Regions from separate parts of the Homo sapiens genome. Here all the other regions are linked to region 1. The links are contacts of gene promoters, found by promoter capture Hi-C in blood cells and fetal thymus (Javierre and others, 2016). All regions are on one chromosome and are shown on one strand. The core of a region is centred on a gene start or on the middle of the fragment in contact, and the rest is flanking DNA. Distances in the headings are between cores, read along the strand shown.

Evidence for each region. The method cuts DNA at HindIII sites, captures the fragments that hold promoters and counts their contacts. A CHiCAGO score of 5 or more calls a contact.
Region 2: a fragment that was not itself captured here is called in contact with the fragment with the promoter of CHRM5 in region 1 in 1 of 17 cell types (endothelial precursors); the score reaches 5.1 in endothelial precursors.
Region 3: a contact is called between a fragment that was not itself captured here and the fragment with the promoter of CHRM5 in region 1, in 1 of 17 cell types (erythroblasts). The highest score is 5.1, in erythroblasts.

Annotation. Positions count from the first base shown.
Region 1 is chr15:33,966,770-33,970,906 of GRCh38, reverse strand. It overlaps CHRM5 (cholinergic receptor muscarinic 5), which reads right to left and starts at 2,410. Exons shown (of 3, transcript NM_012125.4): 1 at 1,757-2,410. The region is part of intron 2 of AVEN (apoptosis and caspase activation inhibitor); the gene reads left to right. The HindIII fragment of the contact is 969 bases long and covers 1,814-2,782 here.
Region 2 is chr15:33,766,417-33,770,441 of GRCh38, reverse strand. It overlaps RYR3 (ryanodine receptor 3), which reads right to left. Exons shown (of 104, transcript NM_001036.6): 61 at 1,735-1,784; 62 at 1,270-1,330. Among named protein-coding and RNA genes, the nearest start is that of CHRM5, 200 kb to the left of the region's middle. The HindIII fragment of the contact is 6,297 bases long and covers 1-4,025 here.
Region 3 is chr15:33,711,419-33,715,355 of GRCh38, reverse strand. The region is part of intron 43 of RYR3 (ryanodine receptor 3); the gene reads right to left. Among named protein-coding and RNA genes, the nearest start is that of CHRM5, 260 kb to the left of the region's middle. The HindIII fragment of the contact is 1,568 bases long and covers 1,312-2,879 here.

The DNA of each region.
Region 1 (4,137 bases), core at 1,161-3,660:
ACCAAATTGGGGTGGAGCAAGGTAGTATTCATTTGCCCAGCCATTGTCATTAGAAGGTGAGTTATAGAAACAAAGCCCCCAAATTAGTGGGATATGAGTCTCTGTTTACATTACAATGAGTAAATAAAATCCAGAACACTTAAGGAATATTGTTATCTGCCCCCTTTAATTCCATTTATTGGAAGCAAATTGAGCATAGTAGAAATTTCATACTTTTGTCCAAGTTAATTAAAAAATCTTTAATTATAATTTAAAATATTGATTAATATTCTTCATTTAAAATATCTACATATTTTTGAATCATGTCTGTTTACAAACTGTAATACCATAATAAGGAGGGAACAGATGAAAAGAACCCTTAAGGGTTCAGCTGTTTCTCAGTGTAGGTAAACAACAACAATACCACCCTTAACTTTTAGTTATGTCTGGTATGCATAAGAAGTATTTTGAGATTTCTAAATAAACATTTTTTTCTCTGAAACAAATTGTTGTATTAGATAATCACTACTTGTATTAAATTGCTGCTTTCCTTTGGTACTGGAAAATGACAGGTAAGTTTCTGTAATGACTTCAGATGTAAAAGACTTATGATATTTAAGGTTATTTATAGACTGTCTTGAAAAGCCTGAAGGGATCATATAATTTACTCCCTTAACTAAAATTTGAAAAAAGGAAAGAATTCAGTGAAATGGAAGAGAATTTCTAATTTGACTACTTTTAGACAAGTATTGAATACTTACTTCTGATAACTTTATGTATATTACCACAAGATCTCCGTAGTTAGGTGTGATATGCTCTTGTTTCCCTGTCTCCTCTCTTCTAAGATAATATAAATATTATTTGTTGTAGGACTTCTTTATGATAAGGTGCTTTGGACCTAAGTTTTCCAATGAAACTCATGAAAACCAATGTGGTTGGGATTTCTGCTAAATGATAACGTTTTGTTGTTTTTACATAAGATTGTCACTCTAGAAGTCTCATTATGCAGTGATTTCTAGGGAATTTCTTAAAGGCACTGTATCTTTTAAAATCCTTTGATGGCTTCACTAGTGCTTTGCATTTTACAGTTTGGACCACTGACCTGAGTCAAAGCTTTTGAGGTTTTAAGGTACCAGACATCTTTCATCTTTTTATCCTCTTGTTGAATCAGAAAAATGTCTTCATTTAGTCTGTTATAAAAATGTCTAGTATCTTTAGGATAAATTAGCCCTATCCTACAAGAGTGTTATACCTCGATTTAGTAGAGATTATTTTTCTTTAGTATGAATGAAATGACATCACAGCTTTTTTTTCTTAGTAACAATAGAAATCAGTCATTGAGCTTTTGTTCCTTTATATGAATAAAAATATTTAAAATGCTTATTAATTTTTCTTTGTTTTATCAAGTACTCTGGGAAACTAAGTTCATTTGAATATTGTTGGTAAACATTATCTGTGAATGGCTCTTATGCACCATTCAGGGCTCTCTTCATGCATTTTTTTCAAGCTATTAAATAAAACAAAATTGGGATAAAAATAAAGACAAAGATGAGACAAATTCAATGAAAAATGAATGGGAGTTTTGGATGCTTTATTATCTAGTTCTGAGTGACTTGTTTATGCAGCATAAGTAAAAACAAGCGTTTACCTCAGCTTAAATCTGCAAAAGCTTAAGGAAGGGTTGCAAGAAATTCAAATCCACTATCTCATTCACAGCACGAGCAGATTTAATTTCAGTAGACAAGATATAAATTAAGGTTATAAAATTAAATCTTACCTGGCAGTGGTTTGTTTGAAGCTCAGTAATTTGAACTCTGGCTGGAAATAGTAAGCTTCGAGACCCAAAATGCCTTCTCTACTTTCCTTTCATGTTTTATTTTGCCAGTGTTTTATTTCTTGCAGTGTCTTTATATCTGTATTCCTGATAATCCTGTAGCATTAGTTAGGATAGTATGCGGTAGATGAAGACTCCATTTGGATAGGATTATAGAACCAGAAGGGTGAGTTTTGCCTTTATCTGGTAACAGCAGTTGATCTGATCACAAACAATCTGAGTGTTGAGAACTTATTAAAGATTCATTGAATGCTTCAGCAATGAGAAATCCTGGTTGTTCCTATATGCATTTGACCCCCTGGAAAAGTTCTGCTTGTTCGTATTTCAGAATTACACACGCTTCCAAATCAAGCTGCTTTAAAAAACATTATCTGGACTAGAAGCATGGATGTTCTTGCACTCTTGCTTTCCTTTCTCCATACGAACTTTTCAGTCCATCAGCTTCCTTTCTGTAGAAGATGAAGGCATTTCTTCTGTCCTCCTCATGCTTTTGTAACCCATGCTTCTGGTACCCTGTTTTTTGAATAGTGAGGTAAAAATCCAGAAGGAAGTACGGCTTTATCATGTCTCTGGACGGTGAGCGTACTTGGCATGAATGAAGAGCTGATAGGAGCTATTCAAACCAGACAGCAAACTGATGGGATGACGCTGCCATACATAAAAAACTCATTAATTACTTCCCCTGCTGGACAGCAGTATATCCTGAAAGGAAGAAAGAAAGGAGCAGATGATGATATTCGTTTTGATAGGTGTTCTCTGTTTGAACAGCTTGTCATTGAGAAGAGAATCCAGGAAAAGCTGCAGCTTCAGAGTGTGATCAGGTAGAATGGGCAAGAGTTATTTGACAGACAGTTAAGTGACGTATTTTGGGAGGAAAAAGAGGGCTTAGCATGGAGGTAGCTGGAATAAGGTTCCAAAATGCTTTTGAAAATGTTCATTTTTTCCTGTTAGTCTTTTTGGCTAGAAGCTTTTTTTTTTTTTTTTTTTTTTTTTTAAGCTTTGCTAGGCATTATTCACAGACATGTTGCTGAGTTATTTTCTCATATGGTTTTCCCTAAAGATGGAAAATAATTTTTAAAAGTCTTTGAGATAGAAAGAGTATACTGTGAGTTTTAAATATTTGTAGCAGAGAAAAGGCTGCCTTTTTTTTTTTTCCTAAATGTATGCCTGTTTTTATACATCTTTTGGGCATATGCGTTTTGTTGCTTTGGAGTAAAGCATTATAAGTCCTCATTTGATACAAACTTTTAACAGGGTCTTCATTAAAGCTTTTCCTTAAGTTAGATGAAATCCATATTAGCTGTATAAAAGAATAGATTTTTAAATGTCAATTTCATAATTTTTGCACTTCAGTTTTTAAATTTAAAATTCAAATTTTTAAAACTGCACTTCAGTTTAAAATTTAAATTTTAAATTTAAACGTTTTTTCCCTGCCTGAGTTCTTTATGAGTGTATCTAGACAATATAATGTTTTTAAATTTTAAAAAATTATTATGGAACATTTCAAACTTACACAAAACTCTGAAAAATAATACAAAAATAATACATGAACCTCCAGAAACTCATTACCAAGATTCAACAATTGTCAGATTCAATTCTTTGCTAAAATATTTTAAAGCAAATCTCATTTCACCTATTTGTACTTTAGTATGTATATTTTTAAAGTATGGACACTTTTTCACATGACCCTGTGCCATTATCACACCTAACACATTGGCTATAATCCTCTGGAGTCATATAATATCCAGTTCATTTTAAATTCCTTGTGTCTCAGAAACTATGTCTTTATGTAGGTTTTTTCTGAGTGAGAATCCAGACAAAGTATACACTTTAATTGTTAGCCAATAGAATTTTAAACACTGACAGATGAACATGTATGAGAAAGAAGTGAATTTTAGTTTTATAGTGGTCTTTGACACACATTTGTAATAGGAATATTTATGCAAGAGAACATATCTTTAGAATATTTTCTTGAACTTTTCCCACTTAACATTGCATGATACTGAAAAGGATTGTAATTTCATATGGTAATGATTGGTCATTATATACTGGTCACTTCTATAATAAATACCCCAAGTTTTAAGCCACTGATTATTAAGCCATTTCAATGATTGAATGTGACTTAGAGTTCAGTGGAGATCCAAAATGAGAGAAGTAAAAATCTATCAAATGGGGCCATTGTGTTTATGAGGATCGATGACTATAATATTATATATGTTTTTCATTAATGTCAAGGTTTCTTCCCAATGGATTTTAATTTTTCTATGAAGTTTGAACTCCTAGCTCCTTTCTGGTAAAGCATAACATTTGGCTGTCCACTTAAC
Region 2 (4,025 bases), core at 1,402-3,901, 200 kb after region 1:
TCAGGAATAATTACTAAACACACCAACCTGCAACTGACCTTCATTTAAAACAAAACAAAACAAAATAAAACAAACAAACAAAAAACTGGACTCTCTCAAGACTTTTCCCAAGTTTCTTGGAGTAAAGATTTCTCATCCCTTTAATAGTCCTTATTCTCCTCCTTTTTTATAGCCATTCTCAGTTCATTGTGGATTTTCATCTTTGGGACGCTCTTTTAGTGTCCCACTCTTTTAGGTTGGTAACCTCTTTTGCATTGGGTCTTAGGAGGTGTGTCCTCCTCCCAATTTTGATAAAGACGTTTCTTTCTTTTTTTTTTTTTAAAGATGAGGTCTCTCTACATTATTCAGGCTGGTCTTGAACTCCTGAGTAGCTTCGACTATAGGCAGAAATCATGGTGCCCGGCTCTGACAAGGACCCTTCTTAATGGGCATGTTAAAGAAAGGTCCCTGTCAGTTCTTTCCACTGCTTCTCTCTTATTTATATATATTTTTTAAGACAGGGTCTGGCTCTGTCATCCAGGCTGGAGTGTAGTGGCGTGATCTCAGCTCACTGCAACCTCCACCTCCTGGGCTCAAGCCATCCTCCCACCTCAGCCACCCGAGTAGTTGGGACTACAGGCATGCACCACCATGCCTGGCTAGTTTTTGTATTTTCTGTAGATGTTTCACCATGTTGCCCAGGCTGGTCTTGAACTGTTGAGCTCAAGCGATCTGCCTGCCTCGGCCTCCCAAAGTGCTGGGATTATAGGCATGAGCCACCGCGCCTGGCCTGCGTCTCTCTTTTCAGTCTCATCATTTGTGTTATTACCAGAACTTATGTATTATTTTTTAAGACTTCTTCCCAAATCCCTAGGCCATGGCATCAACGTCTTTGTCTCTGATTCTTTTGAAGCCAGATCTCTGTGCATTTCCTTCCTTGGCCATTTTGAATTCAGAGCGCTGTGGTTCATCTTTCCCATAACATTTGTAGATTCACCACCCACCAGTGGGGTTTGCCACATTATATATTTTATCTTCTGAAAGACAAACTTCTTAGGAAGGAAAGATAAGAATTGATCAGGCCTTTGCATTCCGTCTATGCCATGGCAGTGGCTCTCGTTATGTGAACTGAGAAAAAGAGAGTGCTAACTTCTAGGGTCTTTGCCCTGTCTCTCCTCTCTTCTCAAAGCCTGGCAGCAGCGATCTGTCTTCTCTTCAGTATAATTAGTGAGATGAGAGGGTCAGAGAGGAAGTCATGAGAAACTATTGGGAAAAACTGGGCAGACTTACCTTGTGTCAAGTGTCTGAGCTAAGATGTGAAGACAGCTCACCATTGTAGTAGAATCACTACCTGGAATAAAAAAAATCATCTGTGATTCCCTCAAACCACTCAGCCTGTCTTTCAAATGCAGTCTTCTCCATATGCACAAGCCACAGCCCCAGCGTAATTAACTACCAACACATAAAGTCCTGGGCCTGTGTTCAGCGACAATGCATTAATTTCTAGCCTGACACAGCCTTGCTTTATGATGGATGTCAGAGGTAGAGCTTAAAATTTTCATTGGTGTGGAAAATCTGAGCAGTTAAAAGGGTAAAGAGGTCATTTATCATGCTTCAGATCAATTTTCTATGGCAAATTTAGGTGACACCTTAGTCCCAAGGCCCGGGTTGTCTGAGGAAGACACAAATAAAGGCAAAGTGCAAGTTCAAGATAATTACAGGGAGGAGCGGTACCTTGAGCAACACTTCACTTACCAAAGAGGGAAATTCTGTGTCTAACGAGAGCGGCAAGTTTGCAGAACAGGCTGAAGCAGAAAAGAAAGCAATTCAGAAAGTCACAGAGATTAAAGGACTCACGCTTTGTATCCCCCACCCCAATGTCCCTTACACTGTGAAACAGAGAGCACAGAGTGGCATTCTAGGGAGATGCACTATGTTCCTAGCAAAGAATCCTCTGGTCCACACTCAGGAACATGTGTGGTTCACACTGCCTTGGAGAATCATGAAAGGTACCTTGCAGGCAGCTCCATCTTTATTAAACACAATCCCTCTGAAACAGTTATAGTATTTTGCAGTGACCCAGTGCAAAGTATACTTTGCTATAGAGTACCATGTACTGAAACGTTCATTTGTGTGACATTCAGGGATAAATGAAGACTCCGGAAAAAAGCATGATTTTCCCCTTGTTGCAATGGATTGCAAACCATTTTGTAGCCTTCCATTGAGGGTATGAAGTTTTAGTTGGGAGGTTGGCAAGAAGCTGGGATTGGAAAAGTGTTAATGGTTCAGGTACAAGGTGAGATTGTGTTAAACAAAAACGTTTTAAGAATTGTGTATTCTCTGTCATCTCCAGTTAGTCTCCAGGCCTGACCAGGTCACTGTTCTAACTGGGTCCTTGGAAACTAGGAAAGGCCCATGTTGTATATTTTTGTGTTTTTTGACTCTCCTTTATGCTTTCACCCATATTTTCCACTGTGGAACCACTGAAGGTTCAGCTGTGCCTCATTGTTTGACTTTCCACAGTGCCTAATGAGGGCCTTGTGATGTCAGAAAGGAGTCCATCGCTGTTTCTGAACATGCTGCTAATGGACCTCACCTAGGGGCACTGTGGCCATCATTTGACCTGTGTTGCTGAGGCTCTTGGGAAGAGATTGCTCAGAACTGACATTACTGACACTGGCATGGCTAGACAAGAACTTTGCAGTTGCTTCAGAAAGCAGTGGAATAGAAAGAGGGAAAAAAGAAGAGAGAAAAAAGCCACCTGGATAGGCCACGGGGTCCCCTGGTGACACATTCCCAGTTTCTGATTCATAACTCATCACGGAGCTCCTTACCCCATTCAGGGCAGAAGTCTTCCATAGGACAACTCAAATGGGGAAGGAATATATCCTGAGTGTTGATGGGGATGAAAACCTGCTCACCTTTAAATGTTTTCAATAAATGCCCTGAGTCTTTTTGGACTGTCTACTGGAAAATCACAACAAAAGTTCCCATGGCTAGTTAATTGGTCTTGCAGTGGAAAAGAGTTGGGACCCCCTGGCCTATAGCTTAAGAGAACACACAATAAGTTACCAGAAACGTGGCAGCCATCTAGGGTGAAATTAAATATCGGCTGCTCTTTTTTTCTTCCCATGGTTTTTTTTTCAGAGACGGGTAGTTGATGCAAACTCATGGAGCTGAAGCGAGGGGCTAACCCTGTGGAATGTGGGCTCTGTTCCTCTGTGATTAGCTGGGCTGTCTTGGGGAAGCCCCTTAACTGCTCTGTGTGGTAACTTTCTCACTGTAGAGAGTCATCATAGGACTCGGGTTTCAGAGTTAGGGGCAGGTAAACTCAGGTATTTCTGGTGAAAATGCTTCAAGTTGGACACATGTTCTGTGTAAACACAAAACAATGTTTTTCTAACAAAGGCAGATATTTGGGTTGTTTGATCCTCATACTAACATGGCTAATCTCATTGTCAGAAGTGCTTTCTTAGGCATGCCAAGGCCAGGATCTGAAATTTCCAAAGGCTACTGCTTGTTCCCTATGGAACCTGGGATTTAACTGGAAGCACCGTCTTTAGCCCAGAGTTATGAGGGCCCCGAGTCCCCAAGTGCCTCTCCTCCATCTCAGAGTTTGAAGACAATAAATGAAAGGAATCTCAGGGAGAGTCTGAGACCCACGGGCAAAGGGCTGCAGATGCAGAAAAGGTGGCGCAAGGGCGAAGATTGCAAAGAAGAGAAATCTGGCAATGCAGACACATTCAGTGCAAACACGACTGCTTCTGTGGGAGGGCAGCAAGCACACTGATGGATTTGAAAGCTATTTGCAAGGCTGATCGGCTCTAGGTTGTATTCCAGCCGTGACAAATGGTGCCTGGTTGAACAAATGTTACATTTCCATGAATTAATAATCTAAGAAAAGTAGATAAAGAAAACAGACACACCTGCCCTCTGTTGGATTATCTGAATATCTCACTTTACTCACTGTTTCCCTAGCTTCTTACAAAACACACTGGTGCATCCTGCAAATGTTTAGGAGGTCTTCGGTCAGCACCTGATTTTAA
Region 3 (3,937 bases), core at 846-3,345, 260 kb after region 1:
AATCTTTTCAACTGTTTTATAAATTTGAGAACAAAACTATGTGTCACACATTTAGTCCTAACCATGCCTAGTCTAGTACCAATCACACTGAAGAATGGTTAACATGCCCTTTCTGACTCTAAAAACATGAATACAAGGGCAGAAATAAACCAGATGATTCTTAAGTGTCTACACCTTGTATGCCCTTCAAAGCTAAGATGACACTTTGTACTCTCAACCCTAAAAGATGTATGTCTCCCAGCACAACAGTCTATCCATATGCTCTCCCTTTAGGACTTTGTTAAACTATATCCATTTATTTCAAGATGTTATTCAACACTTGCCTTCTTCCTCATGCATCCCTTGACTAATTCTACCAGATTCCAATAAACACCATCATTTTGGCATGCCAATGTCTCATGTGTCACTATGTAGGTAGGTGTGGTTGATTACAAAGTTTTTAGTAATTATTCCATACATGTTTCTGATCACTCTACTTGGGTTTTCTCTGTTTCCTGCTTTGAGTTGTAGGAAGTGACTTCTGGGCAGGACTTCTAGAGCATCACGTTTCACAGCCCCTCATAGACTCTTCACATGTCACATGATGGATGTCCAAGTTATGGCCACTGATAATAAATCTACCTAGGAAAGCAGATTCAGCAAAGCTAGGAGATATTATGTTCCTTAAACTAAGTTTGTAGTCTGGGGAAGATATCGCTATAACTCTCCAAGGACTCTAAGAAAACACAGAATAACTTTTCCCTTTTTCTTGTGGATTGATAGGAAACCTTTTCCTTCTCAGAGTCTACAATAGGAAGGGATTAATCACAGACACCCAAACACATCTGTGCTTAGCCTGGCTACAGTGCCTGCAACTGCGGGGAAAATAGAAGCTTAACGACTTCATTACTTCCAGAGTTAAACACAACCCAAGGCTTCTCAACAGCTAATAAAAATAAAGTGAAGCAAATTATATGCCTTAAAACATTTTCTTAAAGACAAATATTTAAGAAGATTTACTACAAACATTAAGAAATAATAGTAAATTAATGTTAGAAAGAGTTTTCTAATTCCATTATTTTGATATATTAAAAGCTTTTGATATGGCTTAAAATTTTTAAAATTAGCACCAAACAGTGATTAAATAATACCACCATTTTTGACAAGCTCAAAGGAGAAAATGTTGTTTCTCCTTGTTGATTAGGGAGACAGGAAGACAACAGTGCACAATGGTTCATAAACTGTGGCCTCTGGAGTCAAACTGCTTGATTCAATTTCTGGCTTTACTTTCTACTACCTATGAGACTCTGGGCAAGGTATTTAATCTAAGCTTCAGGGTCTTCATCTACAATATGAAGATAATTGTATCCACTTGCTATGGTCTGAATATTCGTGTCCCCCCCACCCTCCAAAATTCATGTTGAAATCCTAACTGTCCAGGTGACGATATTAGGCAGTAGGGCCTTTGGTAGGTAATTAAGTCATAAGGGCAGAGCCCTCATGAATGGGATTTGTGCCACTACAAAAGAGGCCCCAGAGAGCTGCCTTGCCTCTTCCACCATGTGAGAACAAAGTGAGAAGGCACCATCTATGAACCAGGAAACCTCACCAGACACTGAATCTGCCAGCACCTTGATCCTGGACTTCCCAGCTTTCAGAAGTGTAAGAGATAAATTTACGTTGTTTATAAGCTACCTTGTCTATGGTATTTTGTTATGGCAGCCTGAACAGACTAAGATGCTTCCCTCATTGGATTGTCGTATAATTAAAGTTAATATATGTAAAAGTGTTTTGAACAGTGCCTGGCACATGGTAAATGCTCAATAAGTGTTAGCTGTTATCCTCACCACAACCCTCACCACCCCCATCATCACTCACCATCATTCACCACACTCACCCTTATAACCCCCCTATATGACCATGCACCACCCAACCATCATATCCCATCATCACCATCATCATCAGCCACCACCATCACCATGTCTACCTTCACTAACCACCACCCACCTCAGTCACCCTACAACTCACTATAACCACTGACCAACTATCATATTCCACTATCACTAGCATCATCACCATTCATCACCCACTATCACAATTCCCACTACCACTCACCATTACCCACCATGAACACCCCATCACCCACCATAATCATATACCACCACCCACCATCATCTACCATCACCCACCATGAATACTTCCATCATCTGCCACGATTCCTTATATCACTTTTATCTTACATTGCTGAGCAGAGTTCACAAAGGTATTCAGAAAGTCCTTTTGAATCACCTTTTAGACATAAGGACTTATAAAGGGCTTTGAGATTCCAAAGAAATCTGTTTATTACAGTTTTCCCATTTCAAATGCCCTACCACTCTCGTAAAGATCATGAACAACAACTATCATAACTACAAGTTTATAAGGTTTGTGGCACTGGGCTGATCTAAGTTTTCCATGGATTATTTCATTTAAGCCTCACAACTCTGTGAGGCATACATTATTATCATCTCTGTTTTACACATAAAAAAGCACTGAGGTTAGGTATTTTGACTAACTTGCTTCAATTCACACAACTAGTAAATGATAGAGCCAAATTTGAACCCAAGTTACTCCATTCTCTACTCCAAACTCTTCTGTAACATTCTGTTGTGATTGAGCCACTATTCCTCCTCCTAAGTATTCAGAAATATTCTCATTTTTCTTTTTCATACTCTCCACATTTTTCTTTTTCATGCCTTCACCTGTGGCAACCTACTGTGAAGCATTTGAGCTACCAATGGACTGCAAATCTACTTAGTTCTAATCTGTTGATTGATTTCTATCCTACAAATTCAATTAGGGGTATCTCTATATGGGTACTGTACACAGAAAAATCAATATAATGTGACCCAAGCCAAGCTTATTACCTTCCATCTCAAACCATTTTGCTTCTTCTGACATCCTTATTTCTTTCTCTCTACCCTCAAAAATCTTTAAGCTTCAATGTGACCTCTGTTCCTTTTCTCTCAACATACCTAGGCTCAGCCATCATCATCACCATTCAGTCCTTGATACAGTTTGTATATTTGTCCCTGCCCAAATCTCATGTTGAATTGTAATCCCCAATGCTGGAGGTGGGGCCTGGTGGGAGGTGTTTGAATCATGGGGACAGATCCCTCATGGCTTGAGGCTGTCTTCACAACAGTGAGTTCTTAAGAGATCTGGCCATTTAAAAGTGTGTGGCACCTCCCCCTTGCCTTATGCCTGCTTTCACCCTATGATGTGCCTATTCCCCCTTCACCTTCTGCCACAATTGAAAGCTCCCAGAGGCTTCACCAGAAGCCAAGCAGATGCTAGCACCATGCTTCCTGTAAAGCCTGCAGAACCACGAGCCAATTAAACTTCTTTTATTAACAAATCACCCAGTTTCAGGTATTTATTTAGAGTAATGCAAGAATGGACTAATACTGAACATTTGTACCAAAGATTGGGGTATTGCTATAAAGATACCTGAAAATGTGGAAGCAGCTTTGGAACTGGGTAGGTGGCAGAGATTGAAAGTGTTTGTAGGGCTCAGAAGAAGATGATAGAAAGTTTGGAACTTCTTGGAGACCAGTTAAATGGTTGTGACCAAAATGCTGACAGTGAAGTCCAAGCTGCTGAGGTCTCAGGTGGAAATGAGGAACTTATTTGGAATTGGAGCAAAGGTCATGCATATTACACATTAGTAAAGAACTTGGCTGCATTCTGTTCGTGCCTTAGGGATCGATGGAAGTTTGAACTTGAGAGTGATGACCTAGGGTATCCTGGTGGAAGAAACTTCTAAGCAGCAAAGTGTTCAAGAAGTGGCCTGGTAGCCGGGTGCGGTGGCTCATGCCTATAATCCCAGCACTTTGGGAGGCCGAGGCGGGTGGATCACGAAGTCAGGAGATTGAGACCATCCTGGCTAACACGGTGAAACCCCATCTCTACTAAAAAT